3 separate regions of the Homo sapiens genome follow, and regions 2 and 3 are each linked to region 1. The links are contacts of gene promoters, found by promoter capture Hi-C in human tissues and cell types (Jung and others, 2019). All regions are on one chromosome and are shown on one strand. Each heading gives the region's core, a stretch centred on a gene start or on the middle of the fragment in contact. The rest is flanking DNA. Distances are from core to core; before and after follow the strand shown. Region 1 holds the start of TNFRSF10D (TNF receptor superfamily member 10d). Region 2 overlaps LOXL2 (lysyl oxidase like 2). Region 3 overlaps LOXL2 (lysyl oxidase like 2).

Region 1 (5,099 bases), core at 1,184-3,683:
CTGTCTCATCTGGATCCCCCGGTCATCTACTCCCACTACCAAAACTCCCGTATCCTTGAAAATTCCTAATACCATTAAGGAATGAAAGTACATAACAATGTGATGAATCACCTTTTACTTCCTAGACTAGCAACGAATGAAAGCTAAGTGTAACAAGGGTGTAGGGATACAGGCACATGTGTGAACTAGGTGTGAGTGTAAGCTGAGTTCAATGGTCTTTTGGAAGAAAATTCGTAAACATCTAAAGAAACTTCTGAAATGATTTATCCCACGGAAGTAGAAGTAAAATTCTACTTCTAAGGAGTTGCCCAATAAGCTGGTGCGCATGGACATGTGGACACACGATACATACAAGGGTATTTAGTACAATGCTGTTGGAATTAGCAAAGGCAAATTTGCTTTGGGTTATATCCCATCGGGATGGGATATAACCAGCTGCCTCTAGATGGCAACAGTGAATTAACCTGTGGCTTACCCATGTAGTAAAATACAATACCCTTGTTTAAAAGAAAATCAATCTGAATGTACTGCCATAAAACATCTAATGTGATTTGTGCTAGCTCCAAAATTTTAAAAAGCAACTGTGCATTGAAATGCATTTAATAAGGCAAGATTGATGGAGGGATCAAAGCCTCCTTTGGGACGCATAGAGTTCACATTCCCAAAACTGTGAAATTCAGGTTGCTGGTCTTGTCTACACAGGTCATCCACACATTCTCTCTTCAGGGCCACTGTCCTGACACAGCCATTCTTCTAGCTGCCTCAGGTAGGTCCACCCACTATAAACTATTGTAGAAGTCAGTTGTGTAATTTTTGAGAGGTGAAAATGTCACTGCTGTTCTGAATTTAGTATTACTTCGTTGAAAGAAAACATGGAGACTCTCATGGTTCATGTAATCTTGTTTTATCCTCCCCGTTTTGTTTTTTGGTATTACGTAAGAAACCTTAGAAAGCACTGTTGGCAGAAACGTCAGTCACTCAGAAAAAGTCCTGGCAGTCTGCACATCTTATTTTTATGTCCTTCTTGTGCACCCCACTACCAATCTCAGTTTCCAAACCCAACTCACAACGAGAACTTTACATCTTTTATGCCTAAGGAAGGGGCCATCCCGCGGTCCTGCCTATGGGATACAGAGGGGACACACGGGTGGCAGTGGAAGACACTGACTGCAAGCACCTTGGTTAACCGCTTCCTGCCACTTTCAGGGTTCTATAGGAAATGAAAGTTACAAAAAACAGCGTTGGAAAGCTTTTTCACAGGCTGTTTGTTAAACTGATCTCCAAGAAACACGTGTAACAGTGTAAACATAGGGTTAATTTTGTTTGTTTGTTTGTCTGTTTTTGTTAAGGCAGAGTCTCGCTCTGTCGCCCAGGCTGGAGTGCAGTGGTGCAATCTCGGCTCACTGCAACCTCTGCCTCCCGGGTTCAAGCAGTTCTCCTGCCTCAGCCTCCTGAGTAGCTGGGACTACAGGCGCAGGCTGCCACGCCTGGCTAACTTTTTTTTTTTTTTTTTTTTTTTTTTTGAGACGGAGTCTCGCTCTTGTTGACCAGGCTGGAGTGCGATGGCGCGATCTCGGCTCACTGCAACCTCCGCCTCCCGGATTCAAGTGATTCTCCTTCTGCCTCAGCCTCCCGAGTAGCTGGGATTACAGGCGACCGCCATCACGTCCGGCTAATTTTTGTATTTTTAGTAGAGACGGGGTTTCACCATGGTGGCTAGGCTGGTCTCCAACTCCTGACCTCAGGTGATCCGCCCGCCTCGGCCTCCCAACGTGCTGGGATTACAGGCGTGAGCCACCGCGACCGGCCTGGGTTAACGTTATGAACGAACGAACGAACGAACGAACGAAAGAGGCAACCGCTCTGTGGCTTCCTGAGGTTCACTCCGGGGTTTCCATCTTGACTCCCTCCCTCCGCTGATTCTGGAACTTCCTCTGGGGCAGCTCAGTGCGGTCCTCGCCGCACGGGACAGCCAGGGGGAGCGCGCGCTCTGCTCCCTCGCGGCCCGGTCGCTCCTGCCCAGCCCGGGCACCCCACTCTTCCCCTGACTCCGACGGCGGGTTCGTCCTGCCCAGACATGCCCGGCCGCAGGCGACCCGGGCCAAGCATCCCCACCGTGTCCCCCTCTCTCCCTGCCCACTCCCGGCGCCAGGTGCGCTCTTCCCCAGCCAGGGACCGCGGCGGAGACTCACCGGCAGCAGAACCGCGACGATGAAGACGACGAACTTAAGGATCTTGGGGTCCAGGAGCCATGGTCTGGTTCCCGACGCTGTCCTGGCTCCTGGATAGCGCCCTGCTCGAGCGCTCGAGGCGGTCGGGACGCTTTGTCCCCAAAGTCCCATGAGAAGGGAGGAGGGTGGATCGAAAGCGCCAAAAATCAATCAGAAATCGTCCCCGTAGTTTGTGCGCGTGCAAAGGTTCTCGCAGCTACACTGCCAGAATAGAACGTGCTCCTCCGCTTTTATACCCCGGAAAAAAGGCGTGGTCAGTTGTACTCCCTTCCCGCAGTCACTTCCAGGCACTCAGGCTGGGTCTCCCCCAGCACCTCCAGGAGGGCCCAGGTTGTGTGGGTGGGTGCATGGACGGACAGGAACTGGCTCTTTCCGGCAGCGGTGACCCAGGGCCTGCGGTTTGATTCCGGGTCCTGTCCAGGCTGTAGGCAGCAGAAGGGGAAGGAGCTGAGGCGCTGCCCGCTGCGCTGCTGTAGTCTGGGTAGTGAGCTCCAGAGGAGGCACTGGAGGCCCATCCTGAGCCTGCTCCCTCCCCGGGCCGCCTGTCTCTCCTCTTCTTAAACCCTGAACTACTTCCTGGCCTCAGGACTTCAGTCCACTCTTAGCTTCTGCTCCCACTCCCTCCTCCCACAGCGGCCTCACTGACCAGTGCACTGATGCCACTGATGTCTCCAGCCTCCTTGCTGCTGTGACCCAGCTCCAAGCTTCTCTGGCAGGGGCTTGGTATCCCTCAGTAGCGGGTGCCTGGCACCAAGGAGGGGCCCAGTGAACACATGAGTGGACAGAATGAAGGACACAGAGGCCATGACAGGCACCTGCAGAGGCTGAGGAGTAGGTAGGAGGGAGAGGAACGCCGGGGGCATCCCTAGCCACAACCTGGCACCCTTTGCATGGTCAAAGCACAAACACTCCCTGACCAACCTTGAGGGCTCTAGTATTGAGGCCCCATGGAGACAGGGGAATCAGGGGAGTGCCTTCCAAAGTCTGTCCCCAAGTCTATTGTCTACCCAGGTCCAACTGTCTGACCTTGGGCTACTTACCTCCCCATCCAGTTGAACACACTGCCGCTGTGAGGGCAGACCCAATGTGTGGTTTTGAAGGGTGCCAGCTTGTGACCCTAAGCAGTAAGGTCAATGGCAGGACTCCTAGACCCTTGGGATGAGTCGGCTCCTGACCCCTCACATGGTAGATAGAAGAGGATAGCGCTATAGAAATGAAGGTTTTTTGGCTCATGAGAAACCTGGGAATGAAATGTCATCCTCTCCACAGGCTTGGATTTGAGCGATGGATCACCCTGAGCACCTTCCAGGGCCCAGACAATGACCTAGGGTCAGAAATGTGAGCCAGGGCCGGGCGCGGTTGCTCACGCTTGTAGTCCCAGCACTTTGAGAGGCTGAGGTGGGCGAATCAAGAGGTCAGGAGTTCGAGACCAGCCTGGCCAACATAGTTAAACCCCATCTCTACTAAAAATACAAAAATTAGCTGGGCGTGGTGGCGGGCACTTGTAATCCCAGCTACTCAGGAAGCTGAGGCAGGAGAATTGCTTGAACCCAGGAAATGGAGGTTGCAGTGAGCCGAGATTCGTGCCACTGCACTCCAGTCTGGGTGACAGAGCGAGACTCTGTGAAAAAAAAAAAAAAGAAAAAAAAATGTGTGCCAGGTCCCAGGCACTGAGCTAGGGTCAGAAATGTGCGCCAGGTTTCAGGCACTGAGCTAGACTCAGAAATGTGTGTCAGGCCCCAGGCACTGAGCTAGGGTCAGAAATGTGTGTCAGGCCCCAGGCACTGAGCTAGGGTCAGAAATGTGCGCCAGGTTCCAGGCACTGAGCTAGGGTCAGAAATGTGTGCCAGGTTCCAGGCACTGAGCTAGACTCAGAAATGTGTGTCAGGCCCCAGGCACTGAGCTAGGGTCAGAAATGTGTGTCAGGCCCCAGGCACTGAGCTAGGGTCGGAAATGTGTGCCAGGCCCCAGACACTGAGCTAGGGTCAGAAATGTGTGCCAGGACCCAGGCAATGAGAAATGTGTGGGGTCAGGAATGTGTGCGGGGTGCAGATCCAGGCAGGAGGTGAAAGGTCAGGGACTTCAGGAAGACTGACAGCATTAACACAGAGCCACCAGGGCCTGCAGGAAAGTCCTTAGAGCACCTTAGCTCCCTTGGCCCTGGAGGGTGGACCACACAGTATAGACCAGAAACCAGACTGCAGGTAACAACGCATTCTCTGTGCCCTGTGTGGAGCACTGACTAGGGCTAATGGCAAAAGGCTGTGAGCACCTCCAAGGAACTGGGCCTTTAGAGTCAAGTTTCCACTTAAGAGGCACTTACTAGCTTGAGATGGAACACTAACTGAAGTCTCCCCTGTCACTGAAGGACATAAAATAATCTTGAAACCTGAAAAACTGATGATGTCTTCAGGAATCTTGGAAAAGCTCTAACGGGGAGGCCAGTCCCAGAAGAGTTCTATTACAAAATGGATTTTTTTTTTTTGAGATGGAGTCTCACTCTGTTGCCAGGTTGGAGTGCAGCACGATCCAGGCTCACTGCAACCTCTGCCTCCTGGGTTCAAGCGATTCTCCTGCCTCAGCCTCCCGAGTAGGTGGGATTACAGGCACATGCCACCACGCCTGGCTAATTTTTGAATTTTCAGTAGAGACGAGGGATCTTCATGTTGGCCCGGATGGTCTCGATCTCTTGACCTCGTGATCCACCCGCCTCAGCCTCCCAAAGTGCTGGGATTACAGGCGTGAGCCACCTCACTCAGCCTAAAAAATGGAAATGGTTGATATGGGATCCTGGTGCCTGAGGAAGGCAAAGAGGAGACACTCATGAGCAGGGAGCCTCTGTTCCCCTCAGACTGAGTCTGGAACTGG
Region 2 (5,099 bases), core at 1,100-3,599, 240 kb after region 1:
TCATCACCATAAGTTATCTTGTCGTAAGTGTATGTTTTATAGGCAAGTGGCATCATTTTTGCAGAAGATACCCTCAGCACTTTGTTGGCAACACATCAAGGAGGATATGTCTGTTGCCACAGGACATCCAGAGGGCCAGCTGTGTCTGCTTGTCTGACGTGGATCGTAGGAATGAAAAAACTAAAAAGAAAACATCACTCTTTGCTTAGAAGACTATAATTAAATATAATACTTAAGGTATCCCAAGTGAAGGGATCAAAAGCCCTGGACAAGAAGAACCTACTAACTGTGTTCCTAACCACAACCTCAGCATCTGCTGAGTTAGTTCTTGTTCTCATCTGCCACACACACTACTTGCCTGGTAATAGTATTTCTGCCACAGAAAGTGCAAAAGATTTGTTAAAACTCTGGACAGAAGTCTGAACTACACAGTCCCCAGCATCCTTTATCATCATCAACCAAGTGGCTATTCTTTCTTTGTTTTTGAGACAGGGTCTCACTCTGTCACCCAGGCTGGAATGCACTATAGCCTTGACCTCCTGGGCTCAAGCAATCTTCCTGCCTCAGCCTCCTGAGTAGCTGGGACTATACCATGCCTGGCTAATTTTTTTTTTTTGGTAGAGACTGGGTCTCCCTATGTTGCCAGCTATTCTGAAAAGGCGCCTAGAGACGTCCCTGACGCTGGTCACGGTAGAAGGGCTGCCAATACGCTTGGCCAAGAGGTGCTCCCTGCTGAGCAAGCACTGCATTGGACAGCAGTGGGTGCATGTGTGGAATTACTCAGGTGAGAGATTTCTGATGTCTTGCTTCAACTTACACAGGACTGAAGACTTAAGAGACTCAGCTGTGTGTTGCTCTGGTTGCATCTCTGTGAATGTCTGGTTGGCCCTTCCTTTTCTAGCCTGCAACTGCTATTCCCGCCTTGTCTGTGGGCCTAGAGCAGAGTGGCCTCGGGCCACTTCATCTGAGGCCTCATGGACCACCCAGGGTGTGACTGCCATGCAGACCGACCACAAAAGCCTTTCTCCAGGGGGAAATGGACGATGACAGTAACAAGCTGCTCTTTTAAAGCCAGGCAGCCCCTGGGAATGGGAAATCATATCTCCTGCTGTGGTTTGAATAGGTGTCCCTCCAAAAAATTCATGTTGAAATTTAATCCCCAATGTGGCAGTTTTGAGAGGTGGGGCCTTTAAGAAGTGGTTGAATCATGAGTGCTCTGCCCTCATAAACTGATGAATCCATTCACCAATTAATAGATGAATCGGTTATCATGGGAAGGGAATTGGTGGCTTTACAAGAGGAAAAGAGACTTGAGCTAGCATGTTATCATGCTCAGCCCCCTCACGATGGTCCTGCATCACCTTGGGATACTGCCAAGTCCCCACCAGCAAGAAGGCCCTCACCAGGTACAGCTCCTGGACTTTGGACTTCTCAGTCTCCATAACTGTAAGAACTAAATTCCTTTTGTTTAATAAACTACCGAGTTTCAGGTATTCTGTTATAAGCAACAGAAAATGGACTAAAACACCTCCTAAGGCTCCCCAAACTTTAAAATGAAGGAAGCAGTCATGCTTGTGCAACTGCAGCTGCTGGTGTGGAATCACCTAGAAATTCTTCCTCCATGGAGACAGCCTATTAGCTAAGGAAAAAGAATCTATGGCCGTCAGAAGGCAGGGTGATTTAAGGTTAATGTCTTGCCACTTCGGAGTTCCTCCCGTTGGATGGAATCGGGTTGACCAGTTTCTCTGCCTCTAACTGGCTATTTTATGGAAGGTCTGTTCATTCCCTGTTTCAAAGCAACAAGCGTAACAGCAGAACATCTAGGAGTCCTGTGCCAAGAGATTCCTTTTTCCCACATGATCTGCCAAGAAAGGAGAATTCCAACTTATGAGTCTCATTAACAAGGTGGAGAAATTTCTTCTTCGCTCCATTTCAAAAGCAAATAAACTTAAGTAATGAAAATGCTAAAAGCAGAAGGCTCTGGTGTTGTATTAGTCTGTTCTCATGCTGCTAATAAAGACATACCCGAGACTGGGTACTTTGTAAAGGGAGGAGGTTTAATGGACTCACAATGCCACATGGCTGGGGAGGCCTCACAATCATGGCAGAAGACAAAGGAAGAGCAAAGGAACATCTTACATGGTGGCAGGCAAGAGAGCATGTACAGGGGACTCCCATTTATAAAACCATATCTCACGAGATTTACTTCTCAGGGGAAAGATCTACCCCCATGATTCAATTACCTTTCATCGGGTCTTTCCTACAACACATGGGAATTATGACAGCTACAATTCACAATGAGATTTGGGTGGGGACACAGCCAAGCCATATCAGGTGTTGCATATCTTCATTGGTCAAATGCAGAATAAAGTCATGCATAAACTAAGGGCTTCAATGGGAAGCCTATATACCCCTACTTCTCTGTCATAGGATTTGAGGGCTTCAGCATGAAGGTACCAGCTGTCAGAGTACTCAGGTGATGCTCAGAGAGGGGAGATTGTCCTCTACTAGATTTCTTTCTGGGGCCTTTGTTTCTTCCAGGAATCCCAGCAACAGTCATTTCACTCATCCTATTTTTACACCTTGGAGTCAAATAATGAGGAAGTACACTGCTCTCTAGTTCAGAGAGGGCAGCTCTGAGCCCTTACAGTTTTGCAATGAGCTAGGAAACAAACCCTGGCTTCCTGATTTTGCAGTTCATTTATCTCAAGCACCAAATGTCCAATTACTAATATTTACACAGGGATTTCTGACAGCAGGTGTATAGGAAGTGATAAGCCCAGGATGAAGCCTGAGCCAAGAAGAACTCTTCAGAGAGCAGCTGAGAGTCCACGAGTAACATGGAGAACCAGAACCACCGAAGCCCAGCCATGAGGAGGCTGGGTTAGACCCTGGCTCCCTGGGTCACCAGCTGTGCCCTCTGGACAGCTTATCTGTTTATCCATTTCCTCAGCTGAGAAATGAATTTGAAAATACTCACCTAACTCTTTAGTGGGACCTTGTAAGAATCAAATGACATAGTGGACAGAAAAGTAGTTTGAAAGGAAGAACATAACAATAGGAATGTAACAAGTTACACAAATCAACAGAACTCAGATCAACTATAAAAAAAGACATTTTGAGGAAAATTGGGAAATGCTTAAATATAGACTGCTATTTGGCATTAGATGATACCAAATATTTTTTTTTTAGTTTTCTTAGGTCTAAATATGGCATCATAGTTATGTAAAATCTTTAGAAATCACACTGAAATATGTAGCAATGAAATGACATGATGTATAGGATTTGCTTTAAACTACTTCAATGACAGAAACAAAGGGACAGATGACGTACATGTGGCAAAATAACTGTTGAAATTCAGTGAGAAGCTTATGAGGCATCATTATACCCTTCTCTCTACTTTTTTTGCATACTTGAAATTTTTTGAGAATAAAAAATAAACAATGTAGTGTTTTCTGGGACTCAACACCTTCGCTGATGGTCATGTCTATCTAGAGCACAGAAAATCTGTTTCCTTCACAAAGCCCTTCCACACTGGCCATCTAGAGGTCAAAGGACAAGGACTTGGGAAGAGGCCAGGAGAGGCCAGTTGGAAAGAAAATAAAAGGAAGCATCTTTGCAGAATCTCCTATCTGTGATACTTAAAATGTCAGCCAATGTGTGGTGTTAAGTACGTTTTGTTTTCAGACCTGAGTTTCATACTCAACTTTGCCACTCAATGCCTAAGTGACCTTAGACTAAGTCACTTTCTAACACAAAGTTACAGGGAAGCAAATGCACATGCATGCACAAACACACATATACATATACACACGTGCACACATGCGTGCACACACATACACACAAGTGCACAAACGCGCACACACACATACACATGCAAACATGCACACAAACACAAATACACATATACACATACAGGTGTGCACACATGCACACAGGAATACATATGCACACACATTGCGTGCACACACACGTGCCCGCGCACACACACCTGTGTGCGCATATAAACACACACCGGTGCACACACATACACAAACACACTCGTGTGGAGACACACACATGCACACATACATGTGCCCACACATACACGTGCACACATGCATACACAAACGTGCGCGCGTGCACACACAGATTAGTGAGACTCAATTTCCTTGGGGAGAGCCTTGGTAGCCACTGGGGCCCATGGGGAGCACGCATCTTGTCATGGCTCTGGTGGCCATTCCAGGGCAGATACTAGGGACCAGGAAGAGGAACGGGACAAAGGTGAGGAGAAAGATTAAAAATTTAGTCAAGTTAGGATCCAGTGAGTCAGTCACTTATCTGGGAACTGACCAGGGAAATGAACTCTTCCTCTTCCACCCTAAACCCCAACCCTGACCATTAAGTACATGATACACCATCAATAACTAATTCATTCCACCAAAGATGACAAATGTTGTTTTGGGGTTCCAGGACGGACAGGCTAGCAGTGGTGTAGGGGAGGGGCCTGGAGTAAGAGGTATGGGTTTCAGTCCCCACATTGACTAACTCAGTGACCGTGAGCCTCAGCGTTTTTCTTCCTCTGGGAGAAAAAAAAAAAAAGTATTGTTTTTGAGATCTCTGCAGTTTCAAGATCTTAGGGACGAAACTAATTTGGAGCATGTTTCTGTCATGCACATCTCTCCCCTCATCAGGACTTGGGGTTTCCTAACCATATTGAGTAGTTCAGCCCCCTCCCTCGCCGTGTTCTGCGGTGTTCTCTTCCTCACACCCTCGCCCCGCTCCGCCCCGCACTCCGGCTGTTTTTTGATGGTCTTAGCTCGGGCACGGAGAGGAGGGAACCTCGCTTGTTCTCCCAATCATCTCTATTCCAGCGCTGATTCCTGGGACACCTCGAGCAGGCAGCCACACCCAGAGGGCTTCCAAATTTGGGCTGGTGAGAAGGGGCGCGGTGGGCAAAGCGCCTGCGTAAAAGTTGTAGGCACTTCAGACCACCGGACCAACGGCTCAAGATTGGGATCAGCTGTAGCCGTGGGTTCGCTCGTGCCCGTTCTTTCCAACTCCAGGGCTTCTAGGTGATGAAGGCGGGAGAGGGTCCCTGGTCCCCGGAGAGGCAGGGC
Region 3 (5,099 bases), core at 1,034-3,533, 140 kb after region 1:
AATATTAAATGCCAATAAATTTGTGCTTCAAAAGTCTGTGAAAATATAATAATAGTATCTTGAAAAACAAGGGGTGGGGGCTGTGGATAGGGAAGCACCAAGTCTGAGCTCACCAAATCAGAAAACACGTGGCACCATTATCTATGTGACTATAATAGACTGGAGGGTTTCATTGGAAGAGAGGTCTAGATATTCAAGTTTGCTGAAAATGACCTAAGAGGAGGAGAAATGGGGTTCGGCCTGACCCTCTCTGGGGGGGCTGATGAGCCCGCATTTGTCCACGTGTCACTGGAGAAGAGCGCGGCTCCACTGTGTCTGTGGTGAGCTCGGTGGCTTGAATGGGACAAGCTGATGACAACCTGTCTGTGGGCCTCATCCCGGTCAAGACTGGCTCTTGGTGCTGCTCCAGCAGCTCTGTGGACAAACCCCACCCCCGCAAGGCCTTCTCAGGCCCCAAGGGTCAGGTAGCAGCCCCCCATGAATGATGGGAGGGTCCCTTTCCTCCTGAGCTTAGACACAGCTGTAGGGGTCTGGACAGGGTGGGGGCCGGGCTGGGTGAGGGCACGTGGCATTCGTTCAGACTCAGTTGTTGGGGGGAAGTCCCATGGAAGATGTGGTGTGGCCTGAAGACAGGAGTTGACCACGCAGGCTTCTTTACTGCGGGGACAGCTGGTTGTTTAAGAGCCCGCTGAAGTGCTCAAACTTTTTTTCCGTCTCTTCGCTGAAGGAACCACCTGAAGAGCGAGAATCGGGTAGAGAGAGTGGACAAATGAGATGCTCGGGCCTTGCCTGACCCTGAGCCAGGGGAGTGGGCCTCAGGGGCTGCTGGGGCCACCTGTGTGTGCCCTCCTCAAAAGGACAGGTGCCAGGCACTGGCCATCTCTAGGGCTGGGCACATAGCAGGTGCTCTGTCAAAGTTGAGTGAACGAGTGAATAAATATAGCGCCTTTAATTTTAACCTTTTGCCAAGAGTGAGGCCCATGACTTTTCCTGCAGAGGAAAAAGCTCTGCCTTCCCTTTTGTTCCCCAAGTCCTATCATCCAAGGAAAAAAGTGTCTTTATTGGAGACTAGAAATAACAGTAGTTTGCTAGCTTCCAGCTCTCGACAGAAAAACCTGATAGGCAGAGCCCACAGATTGCTGATGCCCACATTTTTGAGGTCACATACATAATGAGCCAGTGGCCTCAGCTCCAACCCTTAAAAAGCCTTGGGGTCTGCACTGGGCTGGCCTGGTCCTGTACCATCCTCTATCCGTGGCCGGAGCTGGCTGTAAAAACTCAGTCTCCATCCAGGCCTGTGTGTCTGTGGCTTCTGTCCTGAATGTGGAAATGTGATGCTGGCTGCATTCCCCGAGCTCTTTACCCAAATTAGGAAGCTGCCTCTGGGTCCTTGAGAAAGTAGGGCAGCTCCCGCCTGCTTCCTGGAGTGGGGGCGGCCTGGCCTTACCTATGTGGCAGTTGTACATCCAGATGCGGTGGCCGTCATAGCGGCTCCTGCATTTCATGATGTTGTTGGAGTAATCGGATTCTGCAACCTCGAAGTTGGGGTTAATAACAACCTAGGGAGAAGCAGGGCAGAGGAGGCTGCTTGTTCCCTCTGCGGCCACCTCCACCCAGGCCTGGGGCTCTGAGAGACCAGCACCTCAGGGAAGGGGAGCGTGGCAGGTGCCGGGACCCAAGACGGGGGTCTGTGGGTCTCAACAAAGTCCTTGGGGAGGGGAAGAGATGAGTCAGGGAGCAGAGGAAGCATGGCCTGGAAGAGGGAAACCCTGCCCTCTGTCCATATCCGTGTAACACACACCCCTCTACCCAGGGTGGGCCTTCGGAAGGGGGTCACCCACTCCTGGGAGTTCTGGGGAAGGCAGAAGTTGGGGTCTGGGGAGGCCCCAAAAAGAAGATGCTGAAGAGAAGCAGAAGGGTGCAGGGAGGACCTGGCGGTGTGGGAACCTGGAAGAGGGCTGCCTGGGCGTTGGAGATGGGACACTCGTCACAGGCGTGTGACTGTGGACATGTCCCTTCCTCTCTCTGTAAAGTGACAGGTGGGACTTGGGGATCCATGTCCCTGTCTGCTCTGCTGGCCGAGGGCCTGGCTCTGGGGCTGCTGGAGAAGTTGCACCCTCTCCCCATCCTTCCACCCACCCCTGTATCCGCATCCCCCCAGCTACAGCAGGAATAGGAAGGACATATTCTGGGAGAGTGTCTGTGAGGGAACAGAAAAGGGGAGGTTTACGGTGAGGACCCGAGGAGAAAAGAGAAAGGGAGGGAGAGGGAGAAGAGACAACAGTGGTGAACAGAGGGGCAGAGGACACAGATGACAGGCCTTCCCTCGAGGGTCCTGCCACATTTGGAAGGGCTGCGACCCACAGCAGGGGGGCGGGTACAGGCTGCTCGTTCAGGAACATTCTCTAAATTTGGGGCCCCAGAAGGGCCTGGACACGAACCTTTAGCAGGCCGCTGGGCTTGCCCAAAGAGGTGCTGTGGGAAGCCAAGGCCAGCCTGGCAGCCGGCCCTCTGCTCTGGCCCAGCGGGGCTGTTCTGGGGGCCTGCACCTGGCTCAGCTGTGTCCCGCTGGGGCCCTGTGCCTTTAGCTAAGGAGGTACATGCCCTGCTCCGGGGCGGCTTGAGTTTTTTCTTTTCCACCCAACCATTCTAGCTGCCCCCTCGTTCCTGGCCCACACATGGCATGGGGCAAACACAGCTCCACATGCCAAGGCCTCCAGCTGTGCAGGCCTAGGCAGCTCCTTGGCCGCCCAGGCGTCTCGACAGTGCAGCCGTGAGGGCGGCTGGATGCAGCAAGGGCTCGTGTTGGGGACACGAGGGCCAGTGTTACGTGTGGGGTGGAGGCGGGGCTGGAAATGTGTGTCCCCCACTGTTTCACCCCACTCATCTACTGCAGACCGACATCTCACGAGGGCCTGCGGGAAGTGGCTTTAGGTTTCTGTATGTCTGTGAATCTAGGAAATGATGAGAAAGCGGATAAAGCGGGGCCACCAGGAGCCAGGAGGCCCCTTCACCCCTGCCTCTGAGCTCTGCACAGGTCCCTCTGCGTGGACGGTCACTTCCTCCTCGCCCAGCTCCCTCCTCCTGTCCTTCACAGCACCACTGATGTCTGAAGTGAAGACCACCTCTTGTGTCCCGTGAGTCCCCAGGCCGGTGCTTGTGGCACCTAAAGAAGCTCCATGTCTATCTTAAGGGGAATGTTCTTTTTGATTAATCAGAGGTATTAACATGCCCCTAATGAGTCCATTTGCTAATTGTATTGTTTAGGGGTTGAGAAAACAAAATAAAGAGTTGATATGTCTGGGGTTGGGTGGCCGTGAAATGAGGGTAATGATGATGCCCCTTCCTTGGGAGATTAAATCAAACAATGCATTCCCCAGGCTTAGGCAATTGATAGTAGTTATTAAGTGGATGGCACTGGCCAGAATACAGGGAGATACACACTCACCCAGCAAAATGATAGCAAACCTCAAACAGAAACCACCAGGCACTGTATACGTGCACATGGCCACGGCTATTCATCTTTTAAAATAAATAACTCTCTGGTTAGGCCTCTCCAAGTCTGTGGTTCTGGGCTTGTGGGTGGAAAAGTGCTTGGCTGTCTGCTTTCCAGCCTCTGAAACTGCCCAGGAATTCTCTGAAAGCCCCTCTGTGGTGACTTCTCTGAAGGTGTTGTTTCTTCAGAGGACTGTCTGTAGGTGGGGACCGTGGGCCAGGCCCTGGGCTGGCTGAATGCCCCCTCAGGAAAGCTTTCAAGGTGGAATGACACATTTCTGGTCATCCACTTTGCTAGCCAACAGGGCAAGCTGGAAAACGAGATGGGTGAGGACGTAGGAGAGAGTGAGAGGGTGAGATAAAGCTTCTGCAGGCTACGTGTACCCGTGCACTGGGAGAGACACTAGGGACACAATGCCCCTTTTCTCCCCCAGTTAGAGCCCTGGCCAGAACATGCCGCTGTTTTCAGGAAGGAGGGAAGCCAAGGCCCCCTTGTTCCTCCTCAGGGCTGGCCTTCCACCCAGAGTATGTGGAAACAAATCTCGGCAACCCCTCTGACAAAGAAGTCACCTGGCCAGGCTGTGTCTCGTGTTCAGTATTTTATTCTTATAGATTCACTTTGCATTGAGAATGGCCCCTTCTGCAGATCCTCCTCTATGAGGCAGATATTTCCGGAAGAGCTAAGTCACAGATATTTGCAAGTGACTGGCTCTTTATGAGTTTGCTTTCAGTCTTGAAAGCACAGACCAAGGCAGCCTAGGGCACTAGGAGAAATGGGGATGGTGGAGACAAGAGCTCCATAGGAGACAAGAGGTGTGGGTTGCCTGAGCATGTATGGAATAAACTGGCCGGAGGAGCAAATCTAGCCTGCTGATGAGTTTTGATTTGCATGCACCAGGTGTTAACTCAATCAAATGTGAATGCCTGTGGTGTCTCTGGTCCTGTGCACGCCCTATTTCTCAGGCCCCCATGCCTGATATCTTTGGGTTAACTGATGGACCGTGATGGCCTCTGGGGGTAGCACCTTGCCCTTTAGACAGCCTGACTTCCATGCCCCTGTGTGGACACCAATGGGAAGGAGCCTGTGGAGGTGGCCTCCCCTCCTCCCCCTGCAGGGCTGGAACCCCTTCCCACCCACCTCACCTGGAACAGGTAGTCTCCAGGGGGCACGTCAGTGATGTCAACCCACTGGCAGTCGATGTCATGGCGGTACATGTCCCAGCAGCCCATGGTGATGCCCTGATCGCCGAAGTTGGCACACTCGTAATTCTTCTGGATGTCTGCGGGCAGGGTAGAGGAGAGCTCATCACCAGGGAACCATGGCCCCACTGCCGCACCCTCTTCCTGCTTCCAAGGCCCCTACCGCTGCTTCATCTGGGCTCGGCATCCCACCCCACTGTGTGGGCTGCTCATCTGTTCTCATTTCAGTAGAACCCCCCACTCAATTCCCTACCCACATCCTGCCTCTTCTCTCAGGCCAGGCTCAAGTTCCCCTTCCTCCATGAAGCCCTCCCTGACCACTCTGATCCACCCTGGCCTTTCTGTGACATCCTCAGCCTGGGGATAACTGCGTGTGTGTGGACCGAGGAAATCTCTGGTGCCTG

What was found. Contacts are between HindIII fragments. The study calls those that stand out against the background at their distance.
Region 2: a contact is called between a fragment that was not itself captured here and the fragment with the promoter of TNFRSF10D in region 1, in 1 of the 25 tissues and cell types used here (mesenchymal stem cells).
Region 3: a contact is called between a fragment that was not itself captured here and the fragment with the promoter of TNFRSF10D in region 1, in 1 of the 25 tissues and cell types used here (spleen).

Annotation. Positions count from the first base shown.
Region 1 is chr8:23,161,594-23,166,692 of GRCh38, forward strand. TNFRSF10D (TNF receptor superfamily member 10d) reads right to left here and starts at 2,434. Exons shown (of 9, transcript NM_003840.5): 1 at 2,193-2,434. The coding sequence starts at 2,342. RefSeq lists an enhancer at 2,172-2,291. The HindIII fragment of the contact is 7,003 bases long and covers 325-5,099 here.
Region 2 is chr8:23,398,212-23,403,310 of GRCh38, forward strand. All of the region lies in intron 1 of LOXL2 (lysyl oxidase like 2), which reads right to left. Among named protein-coding and RNA genes, the nearest start is that of LOXL2, 3.4 kb to the right of the region's middle. The HindIII fragment of the contact is 7,857 bases long and covers 1-5,099 here.
Region 3 is chr8:23,297,389-23,302,487 of GRCh38, forward strand. LOXL2 (lysyl oxidase like 2) reads right to left here. Exons shown (of 14, transcript NM_002318.3): 12 at 4,639-4,775; 13 at 1,448-1,559; 14 at 1-734. The coding sequence ends at 655. Among named protein-coding and RNA genes, the nearest start is that of R3HCC1, 12 kb to the left of the region's middle. RefSeq lists enhancers at 4,193-4,693, 4,694-5,099. The HindIII fragment of the contact is 3,041 bases long and covers 764-3,804 here.